2 separate regions of the Homo sapiens genome follow, and region 2 is linked to region 1. The links are contacts of gene promoters, found by promoter capture Hi-C in blood cells and fetal thymus (Javierre and others, 2016). All regions are on one chromosome and are shown on one strand. The core of a region is centred on a gene start or on the middle of the fragment in contact, and the rest is flanking DNA. Distances in the headings are between cores, read along the strand shown. Region 1 holds the start of FNBP1L (formin binding protein 1 like). Region 2 holds the start of SLC44A3 (solute carrier family 44 member 3).

What was found. Contacts are between HindIII fragments. The CHiCAGO score rates a contact against its expected background, and 5 or more counts as called.
Region 2: a contact is called between the fragment with the promoter of SLC44A3 here and the fragment with the promoter of FNBP1L in region 1, in 6 of 17 cell types (total B cells, non-activated CD4 T cells, total CD4 T cells and 3 more). The highest score is 14.1, in total B cells.

What each region holds. Positions count from the first base shown.
Region 1 is chr1:93,446,767-93,449,578 of GRCh38, forward strand. It overlaps FNBP1L (formin binding protein 1 like), which reads left to right and starts at 1,352. Exons shown (of 17, transcript NM_001164473.3): 1 at 1,352-1,539. The coding sequence starts at 1,516. RefSeq lists silencers at 226-520, 1,460-1,509 and an enhancer at 1,001-1,979. The HindIII fragment of the contact is 14,675 bases long and covers 1-2,812 here.
Region 2 is chr1:94,819,065-94,821,764 of GRCh38, forward strand. It overlaps SLC44A3 (solute carrier family 44 member 3), which reads left to right and starts at 1,293. Exons shown (of 15, transcript NM_001114106.3): 1 at 1,293-1,414; 2 at 1,885-1,992. The coding sequence starts at 1,388. SLC44A3-AS1 (SLC44A3 antisense RNA 1) reads right to left here and starts at 1,168. Exons shown (of 6, transcript NR_160780.1): 1 at 892-1,168. RefSeq lists a silencer at 1,297-1,486. The HindIII fragment of the contact is 9,215 bases long and covers 1-2,339 here.

The DNA of each region.
Region 1 (2,812 bases), core at 102-2,601:
CACTTGGAAGAGGGCATTTGTATGCTTAAAGTGGCCTCAGAAAAGGACAGCAGAGAATTTAGGAAGATTAGCAACTGGACTGTCAGGCGAACTCAGGCTGTTGGCCTCAACTCCAAGAGGGAGCGCAGCTAGGCAAAAGAATACGGATTAAGCGGAAGAGGTTGGAACACCTGTCCAGGCCAGGTAGGGGAGGAGTTTCAATGCTGACAAAGAACCCGTTGGGAGAGCTTCCTAAAACACCCAGCTGTCATGACGCACTGAGGAGTACTCTACTAGTTGACTGTTTTGAAGTGTGTGTGTGTGCGCTTGCTTGCTTTAGGAGACAAGCTATTAATACTAAAGCATATGTTAGGGAGTTGCTCAGCGTACTTGATATCTAGTAGCACCAGCCAAACTAGCTAACAGCCTTTCCATGGAGATAGGCCAGGAAGTAGCTCCATAGAGAAAAAAGGAAGTAGTGGACCTGCCTCCAAGGTTCCGATACTGGGAGGTGAAAGAGATCTGAAGTTCCGAATAAGCTGTTTACACTACCAGAGAAAAATCTGGCTCCCATCCAACCCTCACCCACGAGGTGCCCATTCCAGACATGGGGCAAGCTGCCTTCTCATCTTCCGCAGGTGACAGCTCGGCTCACATTTGTCCACGTCTTCCATCTCGTGCGCTGGCAACATACCTAAATGATTACTGGAAGAGCTGCCTCTTTTTATAATTTCCTGACAGAATTTATAAAATTAAAATATTTAATTAAAGACAGAATCGGGGACATGTTGCCTTCACATTTGCTGTTCAACCTGTGCACATTTTGGTGGTTCCCAAGAATCGTCATGCCAAAGCATCAGGCTTGAAAGGAGAGATCACCTTAAGCATCAAGATTTAAAAAAATAAAACACAACTCTCCTCAGTCTAAACTCTAGGATTTGGATGACGCTTCCCTGTCAAGGTTTCTCCCGAGTGGAGGAGACAAGAGGCAGGAAAGGCAGGTAACTAAAATTGCCTCATGTAAAGGGGCTCAGCGCAGAGGAGGAATGAGATAATAGCGGCGGTGGGGGTCTTTTCCCTTCTCTCCCTTTCTATCTTGGAAACAGGGGTCCGACTGGCAGCGGAGTGGGGGCAGTCCAAGCTCCGGGGTACCTGCAGGAGGAGACTCGACCAGCGAGAGGGGCCAGCGAGGGTGACCAGGTGCCCGCTTGGGGACCCCGCCGGCGGTGGCCAGGCTAGCCCAGGTCCTCCCCGATCCCAGGATGCACTGCGCCCCGCCCCCTCCCCGCGCCGCGTTCCGCCTCCCCTCGGCCCCGGCCCCCTCCCGCCCAGCGCGGGGAGGCGGGGACGCGTCGGCGGCGGAGGCTTCTCCAGTCGCGTCTTTCTCACTCACTGGGGAGCCCGGCGGTGGCGGCACCTTTCGAGGTAGACCCGCTGAGCTGCTAGCCCGCCGGCCAGCGAGTGAGAGGTCGGACAGACTGTGGAGCCGACAGACTGAAGGACAGCGGCACCGCCAGACGGCCAGAAAGTTCCGCCATGAGCTGGGGCACGGAGCTGTGGGTGAGTCGGGGAGAGGGGCGCCCCGCACGGACCCCGGCCCCTGAGAAGCGCGGGTTGGGCGGGCGCCGCGGACCCTCGGCGGTGAAAGCGCGCTCCGCCGTCCTCGGTCCGGCGCTGGCGGAGGGTGAGGGTCCCGCTCGTCTTTGTGTGCAGACTCCTCTTCCCTTCTCGGCCGGGGGTCTAGGGGGCCGCTAGTCCGTGCTCCCGCCTTTGCCGCCGTGGTGCAGCTCGGGCGGCGCCCGGGACGGCCGGGGGAGCAGCCCGCGGGCTCCTGCGTGCGCCGTGATCCCCTCTTGTTCCTTCTCCCTCCTCCACCTTCACTTTTCCCGACGCCTGGCTTCGCGCCCGGCGGCTCCTCTCTTCCTTTGTATCTCTCCTCCCGGAGGCGGGGGAGGGGGCCCATTGTCCCCAAGGGGCGCTGTTCGAGGGCGGGGAGGGGACCGGCCGCGATTCCTCGCCCGGGCCAGGTCCGCGGGGCTAGGGCGTCGCCCGTCTGGGGCGGCGCCGCCCAGAGCCCTCGCCCCAGGTATGGGGACCCAGGCGGCTTTGTTCGGAGCCCGGCCTCGGGCCAGCCAGGCCCAGCCCACACGCACATTTCTCTCTCCCTGCCTCAGTGCTTCGGGCGGGCACAGCTTCGAGGGACTCCGGTTTGGCCACCCCCGGCTGCAGCCTTTGGGCTGGTGGGTTGGTTTTGGGGGCTGAATTAAATCGAGTGATCGATGAGGAAGCTAATTTTACCAAAAGGAGCGTACGGTCTCCCTGTTGCTTTACTTCCCTTTCCGTTCTTTATTCTCACTTGTTCTTTCTCCTTCGTTCTCTCCTTTCCTTTCCTCCTTGCCTTTCTTTGGCACAGGAGGCTCCAGACAATGCCCAGTGTCTGGCCAAGGTACGGGCGGAGGGTAATAGGTCGGAGAATTTGCTCCTGGCGCCGGCGCGGAAGGGTCGAGGTGTGGAGGGCAGTGATTTCTCAGGTGCGGAGGGCAGTGATTTCTCAGGTGCGGCCGGGAGAACTGGGGGCGTGGGGGCGCTGTCCCGAGAGCCGCCTGGCCTCAGCCACTCCCCTTTTTATTCCACCTGTGCCTGTTTTCCGTGCCTTTTGTTCGCGAGGATCTCGTGAAATCACTGCAGAGAAAGGGGAGAAATAACTTTTGAGTATGTGTGTGCCCAGCTAGGGTGGGAGTGAAAGCCAATGGGTTAATTGAAAGGCAAAATGTTTTCTTATTTTTCACGTCTACTCATAGATTGGGAATCTTAGAACTGTGAGACTTTAGAG
Region 2 (2,700 bases), core at 43-2,542, 1.4 Mb after region 1:
ATTGCACATTACTAATACGTAGCATCAATATTCATTCTAATTATTATTTTTATGCTTAATATGTTTTAGTTTCATATTTTTTCCTGATTCATATTGCTAATATCATAACTCATTTTAAATAAATTTATCATGCTTATTTAAAAATCTTGGTCCATCTGCTCTACTGATCAGTTTCAGATGGCATATGTTATTCAGTTGTGGTCTTTTAACAGTAGTTGCACTCCTCCAGTGTCTAATTCTTTGTCCTATGAATTCATGTTCCCCTGGGGTTTCACCTACTCTGTCTGATAAACATGCATCCAGGAAGGCCCAGTGAGTTTGCAGTGGGAGGGTGGTGTGAGCCCAGAAGGAAATCGCTGGCACCAGAGAACCACTGTCTATCATTCCCAGTTTCTCCCACTTACCCAGATCTTTCCTCCAGTCAGGTTTCTACCCTTAGGGAGAAGCAGCACCTAAAGGAAGCAATTAACCTAGCAACCCTAAGGGTGGCAGGGGGAAGGGTAGAGGCTTGATTGAGAGGAGGTGGGGGGAGGTCGGCCTGCAGTTTTTTTTGTTTTTCGTTTTTTAAATTCCTCACCCCAACAGTGCTTTTGCGCTGGTCTGACACTACCTGGAAAACTATGCCACCAGTCGCTTCAGTGGACACTACCATTTCAATTGCGAAGTCAGGCAATGATTGTCCTAAGGCAAGGTGGGAGAGAAGTCAGAGTAAACCACCTCGAGAGCGCCGGTCTCCCGGAGTGTCTGGGTTCGACTCCTGCCTCCACAACTTACTGGGTCTCCTCGAACAAGTTGCATCACCAATGGCCGTGCCTCAGTTTCCCTCCTCCGTAGATTAGGAATAACAATAGCAGTGAGAACAGAATCCAGCACACAGTAAATGCTGCTTACCTGTTTGCTATGTGGAATACGCCACTACACTGTTGCTCGGCCCTCAGGAAGGGTCTGCTGAGACTTTCTACTTCCTGCTCAGGGCAGAGGCCGACCACCCGCCCAAGGTCGTGGCGGCGCCGGCTCAGCTTTAGTCGTCAAAGTGCACATCCTGGGAGCCGCTGCCTCGAGGTGGTTGAGGCGAGAGGGCAGGGAAGCGTCTGAGCCTCTTCCTCCCACCAGAGCAGGACCCCAGCTGACAGCGGGTGAGCTGGGCAGAAACCCATGCCGGGAAGAGGCGGACCCAGTGGACCGCAGCGCCCGCAGTCGCCGGGCCAGGCGCAGAGGCGAACGGGAGGCGGCGCTGCACCGTGCCCGCCCCTCCCCGGCCCGGCCCCGGCTCCAGCCCCAGCCCCAGCCCCAGCCCCGGCCCCGGCCCCGGCTCGCGGGCGCTGCGTCTCCGCGTACAGGAGGCGGCGGCGGCTCCCAGTCACCGGCCCCCGCCGGCGAGCGCACGATGCACTGCCTGGGCGCCGAGTACCTGGTAAGCGCTCGCAGCCTCGGCCCTCGGGGGAGGAGCCCCGGGGAAGGGTCGAGTCCCCCGCCTTCACGCACCTTCCCTGCCGGACGCTTCCGCCTTTCCCGCGCCTCGGGGATCCCGCCCCCGCTTAGTACCTTGGGGCCACCTGGCGGGGAGGAACCTGGACCCTGCTCCAGTGCTGGGGCGGAGGCGGGGGAGACGCGGGCCGCGGGGCGCAAACTTGGGGTCGTCCTCAGGTGCACCTCCAGGTAAGCACTTGGCGGCAGGGGGCTTAACATCCGCTCCGCGCAGAGCAGGTGTTTCAAAGGCTGTGTGAAAGAGCTTCAGGTGGCCACGTAAAAAAATAATATTAATTTTAAAAATTTAGAAAAAGATTGGTTACTTTGGCCCCTCTTCGAGTAGATTTGGGTTCGGTTTCCAGGTTGAGTCCACCTGTTTATCTTCTTTTTCTCAACTCTCCCTTTTTCTGGAAGGTTTCTGCAGAAGGAGCCCCTAGGCAAAGGGAGTGGCGACCCCAGATTTATAGGAAATGCACAGATACGGCATGGTTATTCCTGTTCTTTCTCTTTTGGACTGGTTTGGTAAGTGTGGGTGCTTGGTAGGAAAGAGGCCAGAGTGTGTGTGCACGTCTGGAAATAACTCTGTCCCAAATGTAAATCGTAGTTGGTGCTGCAGTGAGAGACTTCTGCCGTTAACCCACAATAAACATCAGTTTGTACTCGGGAGAATTCTTGTCCTAGACTCGCTAGAAAGGCTGTCTTTTTGCTACAGGCCATGTTCTAAGGGGTGACTCCATTAGGAAATGGGAATTAACAGTTTGCAATGTGATTGCTATTTAGTAAGGCCAATGTGTCTCCTTTTACTCTCCGAACTTACTGAACAGAAGTTCTTTTAGCACCTGCCACACCCCCAAATCAAATATTCCTCAAGCTTTTGGTGCACCTTTAACAAAGGAAAAGCCAGGGTAAGCCTAGAAATAAACTGCATTTCCTTTAGCTGAACATCACACACACACGCGCGCGAGAGATATGTTGTGTTTAGCAGCCAACACTGTTAACCATAGCTAACAAGGAATGATTTTTCCCACTCTAATTTCGAGGTATGTATGATTGCTGGTAAACTCCATCAGGCTATGCGGTTATAATCCTGAGAGAGTCTGTTGGAAGCCGAATCTTGCTGCTTTTATACTTATTTTAGAATTGTAGGTAACAGCAGAAAACGTCTCACCCGACATTTTCAAAGGCCACTTTCACGAAATCATCCATGCCAGGATAAGGCATGCTATTTGC